2 separate regions of the Homo sapiens genome follow, and region 2 is linked to region 1. Evidence: promoter capture Hi-C in human tissues and cell types (Jung and others, 2019). All regions are on one chromosome and are shown on one strand. Each heading gives the region's core, a stretch centred on a gene start or on the middle of the fragment in contact. The rest is flanking DNA. Distances are from core to core; before and after follow the strand shown. Region 1 holds the start of ATP9B (ATPase phospholipid transporting 9B (putative)). Region 2 has its middle 330 kb from the start of LINC01896.

Evidence for each region. The method cuts DNA at HindIII sites, captures the fragments that hold promoters and counts their contacts. A contact is called where the count stands out against the background at its distance.
Region 2: a fragment that was not itself captured here is called in contact with the fragment with the promoter of ATP9B in region 1 in 1 of the 25 tissues and cell types used here (H1 embryonic stem cells).

Annotation. Positions count from the first base shown.
Region 1 is chr18:79,066,303-79,072,498 of GRCh38, forward strand. It overlaps ATP9B (ATPase phospholipid transporting 9B (putative)), which reads left to right and starts at 3,092. Exons shown (of 30, transcript NM_198531.5): 1 at 3,092-3,227. The coding sequence starts at 3,109. The HindIII fragment of the contact is 23,298 bases long and covers 1-6,196 here.
Region 2 is chr18:78,642,102-78,648,297 of GRCh38, forward strand. No RefSeq gene overlaps it. Among named protein-coding and RNA genes, the nearest start is that of LINC01896, 330 kb to the right of the region's middle. RefSeq lists an enhancer at 4,710-5,909. The HindIII fragment of the contact is 5,202 bases long and covers 1,026-6,196 here.

The sequences.
Region 1 (6,196 bases), core at 1,842-4,341:
TGTTGAGTGAGGGTGAGGAGATGGTATCACTGTCAGGTGTTGAGTGAGGGTGTAGATGATGTTGTCACTGTCAGTTGAGTGAGGCTGAGGAGATGGTGTTGTCACTGTCAGTTCTTGAGTGAGGGTGAGGAGATGCTGTTGTCACTGTCAGGTGTTGAGTGAGGGTGAGGAGATGCTGTTGTTACTGTCAGGTGTTGAGTGAGGGTGAGGAGATGGTGTCACTGTCAGTTGTTGAATGAGGGTGAGGAGATGGTGTTGTCACTGTCAGTAGCTGAGTGAGGGTCAGGAGATGGTGTTGTCACTGTCAGTAGTTGAGTGAGGCTGAGGAGATGGTGATGTCACTGTCAGTTCTTGAGTGAGGGTGAGGAGATGGTGGTGTCACTGTCAGGTGTTGAGTGAGGGTGAGGAGATGGTGTTGTCACTGTCAGTAGTTGAGTGAGGGTGAGGAGATGGTGTTGCCACTGTCAGTTCTTGAGAGAGGGTGAGGAGATATTGTTGTCACTGTCAGGTGTTGAGTGAGGGTATAGATGATGTTGTCACTGTCAGCTGTTGAGTGAGGCTGAGGAGATGGTGTTGTCACTGTCAGTTCTTGAATGAGGCTGAGGAGATGCTGTTGTCACTGTCAGGTGTTGAGTGAGGGTGAGGAGATGCTGTTGTCACTGTCAGGTGTTGAGTGAGGGTGAGGAGATGTTGTCACTGTCAGTTCTTGAATGAGGCTGAGATGCTGTTGTCACTTTCAGGTGTTGAGTGAGGGTAAGGAGATGCTGTTGTCACTGTCAGGTGTTGAGTGAGGGTGAGGAGATGGTGTCACTGTCAGTTGTTGAGTGAGGGTAAGGAGACAGGAGACGGTGTTGTCACTGTCAGTAGTTGAGTGAGGGTCAGGAGATGGTGTTGTCACTGTCAGTTGTTGAGTGAGGGTACACTGTCAGTTGTTGACTGAGGCTGAGGAGATGCTGTTGTCACTCTCAGGTGTTGAGTGAGGGTGAGGAGATGGTGTTGTCACTATCAGTAGTTGACTGACAGTGAGGAGATGCTGTTGTCACTGTTGGAAGTTGAGTGAGGGTGAGGAGAAGGTGTTATCACTGTCAGGTGTTGAGTGAGAGAGAGGAGATGGTCTGTCACTGTCAGATGTTGAGTGAGGGTCAGGAGATGATGGTGTTACTGTCAGTAGTTGAGTGAGGGTCAGGAGATGGTGTTGTTGCTGTCAGTTATTGAGTGAGGGTGAGAAGACGGTGTTGTCCCTGTCAGTAGTTGAGGGTCAGGAGAAGGTGTTGTCATTGTCAGTTGTTGAGTGAGGGTGAAGAAATGTTGTTGTCACTTTCAGTTGCTGAGTGAGGGTCAGAAGATGTTGTCACTGTCAGGTGTTGACTGAGGGTCAGATGGTGTTGTCACTGTCAGTAGTTGAGTGAGGGTGAGAAGATGCTGTTGTCACTGTCAGTAGTTGAGTGAGGGTGAGGAGACGGCGTTATCACTGTCAGGTACTGAGTGAGGGTGAGGAGATGGTGTTACAGTGCCAGTGCTGTGAGAATGAGATGGTGTTATCAATATCAGTTGTTGAATGTGGGTGAGAGATGGTGTGAACAGTGTCAGCGGCTGAGAGTGAGGTAGAGAAATAATGGGTGAGGCCATTGTCAATTAGGAGGCCATTGGCGTCTTTTGAAAGTAGTTAGTGTCTGTGGAGTGGCATGTATTCAGGTTACATGAAAAGCAGCTGAGAAGCAAACTGGCAATCAGAGTGGCAGCAACAAATTAAGAATATTCATATTCATAAAGACCATTTTTTATAATGAAAAAGTAATACATGCAGATGGGGGAAGATCACCTGAACCTTGAGAGGTGGAAGATGTAGTGAGCCGTGATCAAAACATTACACTCCAGCCTGGGTAACAGAGACCCCATCTCCAAAAAACAGAAAAGAAAAGCATTTATAAGTTCATGTTGAACAGTGTTTCAAACACATAGACAAAATTTATATGTCATGAAAATGGAATATCAGAAAAACATTGTTTAAAAAAACACAAAGTGAGTAAACCATTAATACGTGAGGTGAGCGGTGCATCAGCTTGCCGGCTTCCAGCTGCAGCGGGTGATGGAGGTGGAAGGGAGCTGTCCTCGGGACAGGAAATGAAACAAACCCAACCAAAGCCGTGTATTCGTTTATTCAATATCGTTTTGCTTTCTTGTGTAGACTGAGGGTGTAAACCTCGTTTCTGACAGTCGCCTATAGGACTTTTCAGCAGGCTGTGGGCCTAGAGGTGGGGGATGTGGAATCAAGCTAAAGACCCAGAACCAGAGAAAGAAGGAAGCAGCAGTGAGGAAGCAGGACAAGAACATCTCGGAAATTCAGCCCGGCGCGGTGGGCGCGCCTGCAGTCGCGGCGCTTTGGGGGCCCGGGCCACGTAGCACGACCCTGCCTGTGAACGCACAGACACCAGCGGTTCCAAGGGCGCGGGCAGGAAGCGGGCACCGAAGGCAGGCTGGAGAAGCGCGGGGCGGAAGCAAGAAGCCGCGCGGCGAGGAGGGCGCGTGGGGCCCCACACAGCCATGGGGCGCGCGTACTACTGGCAGCGCAGGCTCTGGACCGCTAAGGAGGCCGCGCGCGCCCACGCGTGTCCCCGGCAGAGCTTCCAGGAGACGGCTGCGAGGCCCTTCCACCCGCGGACCAGAGCGCGCCGGGTCGAACCACGACCCACGTGCAGGCCCTCGCGCGCTACCGGAAGGCCAGCCTGTGGCGCACGCGCGCCCCGCCCCGCCGATCGGTGACGTCATCGGGCCCGTCACGAGGCGGGGGCGGGGCCTCGGAACGCGACGCCCCCCGTCCCAGCTTTAGCCACTCGTGACGTCATTGCCCGGACTCCACTGCCTCCTGCGCCGCGCTTTTGCCACCCTGGGCACGTCATCGTGCGCCGACGCCAAACGAGGGCGGGGCCTAGGGACGCCACACCTTCCGCGCCGCCGCTCGTTACGTCATCGGACCTCGCCGCTTGGCGGAGGCGGGGAAGGCCCGCAGGCGGCGCCTCAGCCGGGGTTGGCGCTGAGGGGAGAGGGCGGGGAAAAGGTGGCGAATTGAGGGGAAAGTGGGAGGGGCGGGAAAGGGGCGGTCGGAACATGGCGGACCAGATCCCGCTTTACCCGGTGCGTAGCGCAGCGGCGGCCGCAGCCAACCGCAAACGCGCGGCCTACTACAGCGCCGCGGGGCCCAGGCCGGGAGCCGACCGGCACAGCAGGTAACCGAGGCGGCACTGGCCCCGTTCCCCGCCGACGCTCCCCGGGGCCCCCAGCCCACCGCAGGAACCCGGAGCCGGGCGGGTCTGGGGTCGCTACCGGCGCGCCCCATCTGTTCGCTGGGAGCCGGGAGTCCTTGGCGTTCTGAGCGCGCCGCAGCTGTGGCGTCCGCCGGTGGTGAGGGCCGCGGGCAGCTGCCGGGGCGAGCGGCTGCATCCCCGGGACGCCTGGGCCGAGCGTAGGAGCCAGAACGGGAGCAGAGAACCGCGGTCCAGTGTTGAGGGGTGGCTGCTCTCCTAAAGTAAACGGGGATCAAAAGTGCTAACTTCTCGGATACTTCAGAGTCTCCGAAACTTGTTCTTGTAGCCCTGTGAATTGTGAAGGTGACGGATGTAACTTTTAATTGCTTTGTTAAAAACACACTTCTTATTGAAATGACTTCTCTTCGACATTTCGATATCTTTGCTAGGCACACTTTTTGTTTAAACATATATATACAAAGTGCTTTTTGTCGACAAGTAATTTTGCTTTTACGAAAGGGAAATGGGGTATTGAGAACGGTTAACTTGTTTAGTGGGGTCACAGGTTAGCAGTAGAATTAGTGTACAGACCTTTCATACTCGAGATTGCATTTAGCTCATATTTAACATTTCTCATTCAAAGAAAAGAAAATTTTAAAAAGTGTTGCTTCTTATAGTTTTTGAAGTTTTATTCCAGAGGAATTGTCGAAAACATAATTTCACTCAATATGTAGTTGCTTCAGAATTTGAGTTTTTGAATAATTTTTGTTTTCGGCCATTTGAGAGACTAACATATAGCTCAAAGTACATACTGGAATGTTATAACGCTGATTTGAGTGTTTACCCACTAGCGATTTACTCTCGGGTAACTTATTTAAACTCAAGCCATGGTTTCCTCATCTGTAAAATGCTGGATAATATTTTTTCTTACGGGATTATTGGAGATTACAGTAGAACATGTGTAAGGTGCCCTTTTTTCAGTGCTTGGTTGGAAGTGGGTTCTGGTGTTACCTATAACAGTAATTGTGTTAGTAAATCTGTTTAATTTTAGGAGTTCTTTAGTTGGAAATGTGCCACCTGTTTCAAAATAGGTTTCCATCACAGATTGAATCCATTTTTGCCTCATGTACTTTGAAGCACTGTCATGTGGTGCACGCACATTCAAGATTTTTTGTCATCTCGGTGGATTGTTCCTTTCATTGTTAATGTTCCTCTGTCTCTGGTAATTTTCTTTGCTCTAAAATCTTTATTAGATATTGATGTCGCCATTTATGCTTTTTTTTGGATTAATGTTTGCATGGTATTAGCTTTCAACTTACCTATGTTGAATTTGAAGTGAGTTTCTTGTTGGATCTTATATTTTTTATCAACTATGCCATTCTCTTTTGATTGGCATATTTACACCATTTACATTTACGATAATTACTGATATGTTAGAATATAAGTGTGCCATTTATTATCTGTGTTCTGTTTCTTCTGATTCTCATTCTGATTCCTGTTTCTTTTTTTTTTTTTTTTTGCCACTTTTTGGGTTACTTGGACACTTTTTTGGTATCCCTATAGTGTGTTTGAGATTAGGTGTTGGTATAGTTTTTACAGTGCTTGCTCTGGGTATTACAATATACAAATGTGACTTATCACCATGGTGTATTGCTGTATTTCACCACTTCCAGTCAAGTGTGGAAACCCTTCTTTCACTTAGGTCCTCACTTTAAGTATCATGTCCTGGGTATCAGATGGTGTTACAGTTTTTGTGTCAGTCATCAAATATGGTTTATAAAACTCATGATGATAAAGATAGTGTATTGCATATACCACATACGCATATTTCCCCTTTTTCTATTGTTCTTCCTTTTTTTTTTTTTTGAGACAGGGTCTCACTCTGTTCTCCTGGCTGGAGTTAGTGATGCGATCGTAGCTCATTACAGCTTTGATCTGTTGGGCCCAGGCAATCCACCCATGTAGCTGGGACTATAGGCACATACCACCATGCCTGGCTAATTAAAAAAAATTTTTTTTGAAGAGACAGCATCTTGCTATATTGCCCAACTGGTCTCAAGTGATCCTCCTGTGTCATCCTCCCAGAGTGTTAGGATTAAGGCGTGAGCCATGGCTGCTAGCCTGCCATTCTTTTCTTAGCACTTGAAAAATCTTGTGCTGCTTCCTTCTTGTGTCCATGGTTTCTGATTAGGATGCTGCTGTCACTCAGATTGATGTTCCCCTGTAGATAATGTGTCATTTCTCTCTGGCTGCTTTCAAGTTTTTACTTTGTCTTTAGTTTTCAGAAGTTTAATTATGATGTGTCTTATCATGGATTTCTTTGGATTTCATGTTTGGTTTTGTTTTTTTTTTTTTTTTTGGTTTTCGAATAAATTTAGGGAGTTTTTAGCCATTATTTCTTCAACTACTCTTTGTTGTTGTTGAAATAATGGAGAGTTGCTCCCACTCTCTTCTCTCCATTTGGATTTCCAGTGTTAAGAAAGTTGGATCTTATGTTGGTGTTTCATAATTTCCTTAGGCTCTTTCCCTGTTTCTTTTCTCTGTGTTGTTCAGATTGTGTAAATTCTATTAATCTCTTCTCAAGTTCCCTAATTCTTTTTTTTTTTAATTTTTTTCAGTATTTATTGATCATTCTTGGGTGTTTCTCGGAGAGGGGGATTTGGCAGGGTCATAGGACAATAGTGGAGAGAAGGTCAGCAGATAAACATGTGAACAAAGGTCTCTGGTTTTCCTAGGCAGAGGACCCTGCGGCCTTCCGCAGTGTTTGTGTCCCTGGGTACTTGAGATTAGGGAGTGGTGATGACTCTTAACGAGCATGCTGCCTTCAAGCATCTGTTTAACAAAGCACATCTTGCACCGCCCTTAATCCATTTAACCTGGAGTTGACACAGCACATGTTTCAGAGAGCACGGGGTTGGGGGTAAGGTTATAGATTAACGGCATCCCAAGGC
Region 2 (6,196 bases), core at 2,377-4,876, 420 kb before region 1:
CAAATTAATAGAGTTCCCTTTTTTTAATTGTGATTAACAAACATCAGACCAGCTTAAACATCAGTTAGACAGTCTATGCATAATGTGTACCTTTTCATCAGAAAGACGGTGCAGACACAGAAGGGCTGGAATCCATCAGGGTCAGCAACTGAGGAAGATGAATGGAAGAGCAGGGGAGTAATTTGCTGCCATCCATGAAAAATGCGCTGGCAGAGAGTCTCGGGGACTTGCCAAGCCCCCTTTTAGAGCGTTGTCCAACGCTAATTGTCACTCCAGATTTGATATTCACATTAGCCACAACAAGTGTTTCCAGTTTGGAATCCCTAAGAACTCTTCAAATATCTGGCATCCATGTGTTAAACAAAAATTTTCTTCTAGCTGAATTTGTTTATAAGTTATGAGTGGGACGTTAACAAAGCTTTCCGTTGACCAGCACAGCGCTCATTAACCAATAACAAAGGCTTAGCAGGCAGCGTATGATCTCAGGAGTCATTTAAAAATTAAAAGGGACAATAATGCTGATCTAAATGGTCAGTTTCCTTGCTCTCTGCAGAGACAGGTACTGTATCTGTTCTTAATTTGAAGAGTAGCCAGCTGGCTCCCCACTGAAATGTGATATTGTTATAAACAAACTAGCATCATAAAGCAATTGAGCAAGGAAGGCCCTCTGGAAGGAGGGGACTGCCTTTGAGTTATTCAGACAGATAAAGAGGGGCCAGGATTGCCCTGCGAAGCAAAGCAGGATGTGAAAAGCAGCTACGGCGGGGCTGTCAGGCAGCAATAGCAGCATCCAGCTGGTCTCCTTGCACACAGCAGCAGGTGTATTTATTATATCAAGAATCCAACTCCTCAGTGCACATTATAGGAGCCACCTCTTTCCATTAAATAACAACATAATCAATTGCATGAATCATGGCTGAAAGAAACGTTACCTTGCAAAGGTGGATGGTCTGGCAGAAATCTTGCCACCATTCTAAGGGGATTTAGAAAAACCTGTGAAGTTAGAGTAAGAGGAAGTTGAAATTCTATCAAGAACCTTCTATTTTTCACCCCAGCCTGAAGGCGGGGATGATAACCACAGACGTATAGTTGGCCTCTTAGGGCTGACGAAACAAGTGTGATGTTTGACAGTAATAGCAGTTACATAATTCACTTCCTACTTAAGTTTTTAATAGTACTTGGGCACACACACATGAGTAATGGAGGAAAGAAAAAATTGGGTGAGCCTAATTTCTCATAGCAATCTCCACACAGCTGGATGTTTCTCAAATATTTTAAAGTGTTTTGATCAGTTAAAAAGATTTAAAGCATTATTTTCTCAGAAATTCTGACAAAATGTTTCTACGAAATTAACTAGTTGTTCTAAATTACATATTATTTCATTAATTGCCAATACAGGTTATATTTTTAAAGCAAAATCACATTAACAATCCTTTCATGTAAGAATCTTCCATTTCCAAAATTCTTTGGTAATGTAACTTGCAAAATAATCTGTATCCTCTCAGCTTTCAAACTTCTGTCTATTGGGCTGTTCATCCAAATAAGTGTAAATTAATTAGATCCATAATTCCACATTAATTTTGCAATTACAATGAAAAATATTACAATACCACCTTTTGTGTAGTAATTTAAGCTTCAGGTGTGAGTTTATTGTTCCTCAAAATGGGCCAGGAGAGGAAAATAAAGGAGCTAGGACCAGGCACACAATTTTCCTGCCTTGGAGGGCACAGGTGCTGGAGAAAGTGGCCCAGGAGCAGAGGGTGACTGTTGAGGGCCACAGGTGAGCAGATGAGACGGGCATCCAAGGGAGTAGCCAGCAGCATGTTGATTCCGGCCAGAGAGTACCAGGGAGATTCAGCTGGATGGAGCAGCGTCCACAGGGTGGTCTCTACAGTTGGAATCCACACAGGTCCCAGTACCTGGGCCTGGGAACCAGGACTCTGAGCTGTCGAGAGGTGAACTTGACGACGGCACGAAGAGCATGGGCCACGCCCGAGTCCGTGAGGTCAGGACCCTGTGGAGGAGGCTGGGAAGGGTGGCAGGGGTTTCCCCAGGAACCAGTGCGGAAGGCAAGTGTGGACATCCCCAGGACAGGACCCTCAGTGGTCAGGGGGCTGAGTCTCGTTCCTACCACAGCCCTCCTCAGCGTGTGCAATGCCTAGGAGGGGGTGGCCATGTCTTTGTGGGTGCTCAGCAGGTGCCTGGTGCGCAGATGACAGAACGTGGAGTGGAGCAGAGTCAGAAAGGGGCCTGAGGGAGGTGCGCGTGGCCTTGGCACATGGAGTCACGCACCAGGGCAGGAGACCGCATCAGCACCCTTAGAGCCGCGGGCAGCCAGCACTCCTGGAGTGCCACTGGGTCCACAATGATATCCTGGGCGTCCACTTAGTGCTAAGCCCCACGGAACCCAGGATCAGGCTAACAGGTACTGAGTCTTCCAGGGTACTTTTTCCCAATCACAAAATGGTTCAGGGTCTGAATCAAGTAGAACCCGATGGCAGGAGGTGCAGAAGTGCACCTGAGAACGTGGGTGGAGGCTCATCTGTTGCGTCTAATATGATCTGTGTAACATAAATGAAAAGCATAGTCAATTTTTCAAATCGACAATCCAATATTTAGGGACTTGCAGGGTGAATGAATTTAAATCCACATTCAAAATAAGATAATTAGTCTCTCTTACTTGATGAATGATACTATCGTCAAGTGATATCTTTCTGTCACGAGTTTCGGACCAATAGCCCAAAATGAAAATTATCCAATAAAACGTGAAAATTCAGCATTCTGCTACACAAAGTTATTTGAGATGGGACCATAAATCTTTTGCTAAAAGATGCCAAGCCCGAGGCTCAACTTTGCTGCAGAGAACGCGCTCATTCAGTGTTCACCATGTCTTCTCAGCCAGCACTGCTCCGCCCGCAAACAGCATCAGAGTCAAAAATGTGGAGACCAGCCCAGAAGGTCAGGCACATTCCAGGTATCAACCTACTTCCAGTGGCTGATGAGCCCTGGCCCTTAAACCGCCAACCCTCCAAATCCCAGGGTTTCCATCCTGCACCCCCAAGCCTCACCTGGCAGAACACCACAGGACCCCCTGTGTACCAGGATGGACAGCCTGGCTTCTAGCCCTCCTGCCGGCATCCTCAGGGGCTCAGACCAAGGCCACGTGACCACTCTTGTAAGCACCTGGGCTGAGCAGATCTTCCCACGGGCCTCATCACAACCCGTGGTGGGAACACAGGCCCAGACCTCAGCACCTCAGGGGTAGGCGGCGAGACCACACGTCCACACCAGGCCCAGACCTCAGCGCCTCGGGGGCGGGCGGCGAGACCACACGTCCACACCAGGCCCAGACCTCAGCGCCTCGGGGGCAGGCGGCGAGACCACACATCCACACCACACCCAACACTCAGCCTGCCAGGCTGGCCTGGGCGCCATGTGGCTGATGGGCACCCACAGTGAGCACGGTGATATGCTCCTCTCTTGCCTGGAAGGCTTTAGACGCTGCTCCTCCTCAGCGTCACACCAAGCCTGCTCAGAGGTGCTGAGAAATCCGGGGAGTCCCTGCAGGGAGGACACGCTTCTGACCCCTTGCTGGTCAGAAATGAAAATTAACCAATGAAATGTGAAAATTCGGCATTTTGTCATACGTGTGTTTACATATGTATATAAACACATGTGAAGATGAAGGGAAAGCAGGGTTGCTATGATAGCAAACAGATGAATAAAAATAAAACACACCATGTTCTCCATATTTTCATATTTTTCAATTATGAGACTTTACATTCACTTCTGAAACTTTTTAAGACAAAATTTAAAATGGAAAATATCAATCCACTGTGAGTTAATTGCATGCGTTTTTGGCTTCTCCGGCACGTCAGCGGCATAATGTTCACCTCGCAGGAGGAGCTCGGCCTCAGAAGCTTCCTTCCTCTGGCTTCTCTCCTGGGGCGCGTGGGCTGGATCCCCCGTAAGGAGGCACTAAGGTCAGCAGGGCCCTGCGGCCAGGAGGTCTAGGTCCACGGTGAGATCAAGGCTGCGCTGTGTCCTTCTGAGGGGTACGTGTCCAGCGTCCCTGTCCATCTGAGCAAAGGGCGCTTGTGCCGTTGGTGGAATCCGTGACTGAAGGCCAAAGCACCTGCACCTGTGAAAACATCAGAACATGGACTTTTCCACGGCACTGACCATGGCACGAAACTAACTGTGTAGGGAGACAGTTAGAAACGACAAAGATGGTGCAGTGTGTGCTCAAGGTGGGGTTCAGCAAAGCATCTCAGCTTGCAGAGCAGCACCAGCTCAGAGCAGGGGCTCTGTGTGCCTTGTGGATATGAATGGATGGATGGACGGACGGATGGATAGATGGACAGACGAATGGAGAAGAGCTCCGCAGTTGAGGAAATGCGTGAGATGAGATGCAGCGTGGCCATGGGTTTCCCCACATTTTACTTCTACTCTGGGCTCTCCTGGACATCTTCCTTCACATAGAGGGTGTAAACTCGTTAACGCCGTCTCTGCTCCCTGTGTTTAGGACCTGGATGGTCTTTGCATGGCAACAAACCCTTTCCCTCTAAGCCAGGCCCACCCCAACAGCCCCCATCATCCAGCAGGACCCCCATCAGCCACCAGCCGCAGACGCCAGCCCCTCCTGTTCCCACATCCCCTGTTTGCCCTCCTGGCCTTGGGAGTTGGATCCAGCCCCAAATCCTTCATGGGACCCTTCAGGCCCTGCCACGGACAATTATAAAGGCCTCACCCGGCTGGCGTCTAGGAGCAGCCTCGGGAGAGCTGCGCTTTGGACTCCGGCCCCTGCTGGCCACACTCTTTCCACATCTGCATGCCTGCCCCCACACCTCCACTGGGGACCCCTTCTTAGGGGCTCAGTTGAGGGGCTTTTCTCCGTCCAAGCCAGTGCCTTTCCACTTCCTTCCCCAGCTCCAGGTCCGTGAGGGGCAGGAACCCATTGCTCAGGCTTCTTGGCAGTGAAAGGACTTCGTCTGTGCCATGTGCCCAGACCCTCAGCCAGTGTGGGTCTGTGGAGAAGAAGAGACATCAGGGCTGCTGCCCTTCTTGTTCACCACATGCCTACACCATCACAGAGAGGCCGGATGTTGACTTCCGTGACTCATAACCAAAACTACACACTCACCACCCAGTGCTCCACAGGCCCCTGGCCTGAACTGCAGATCCCAATTTCAGTGGCCACCATGCCTGTCTCAGTTTCAGCAACTCTGCAAGCAAGGACCCCATTTCTGAGCCCTGGGTCCTGCACAGGCCACATCCCAGGGTGAGATGTGCACCCTCCATGCCTGGGCAGAGGCTCCTGGTCCAGCCCTGCCCTGCTCCATCTGTGGTCCCCGCAGGAGCAGGAGGCGGAGGGAAGGACAAAGAGGCCTGGACCCCTGCACTGATTACTCTGAACTCGTACTTATGGGACCTGACCCACAGCAGCTTGCTTTCTCTTTCTTTCTTTCTTTTCTTTCTTTCTTTCTTTCTTTCTTTCTTTCTTTCTTTCTTTCTTTCTTTCTTCTTTCTTTCTTCTTTCTTTCTTTCTTTCTTTTTTGTACTGGAGAAGGAAACTTTTTGTTTGCTTAATCTTTCGTTTGTTTGTTTGCCTGTTTTAGGAACCCTGAATTAACAGAATGAAGAATAAGATAATGGAGGAGTTGGCATCGAGTCTCCCCCTGCCCAGCACATAAGCCAGGCTTGAGCCCCACAGGTAGAGGCAGAGAAGCCAGAAGCCTGGGGAACTGTGACTCTGAGAAACCAGTGCACTTGGCACTAGGAATACATCACGATCAAAATGAAAGGTAAAAATTAACAAATATAGAAGATTCACGCTCTAACAGGACTGAGCCCTTCCATGATCTCACTTAATCCTCACAACCCTGGAGGTCATTGCTCTCTTCAACCCTGTGGAGATGAGACAAGACACAGAGAGAGGTGCGCTAAGTTCCCCAAAGCCACGTAACTTGCTGCAGCACAGTCAAGATTTGAGTCCAGGCTCTTAAACTTCACATCAGGAGCTCTCAGCCATCACTTTAAGCCACCTTATTTGCATCTAAGAAGCAAGGATCTTGAGTCTTCTGATTCGGAATTGGGCGTGATCTTTACTGTGCTGCTTGGGGGGTCCAGTGTATGGTGCTCATTTGAGGATCAGGACTTTCTGTCTTCCAGGATTTCATCACCTGCCCATCTAATT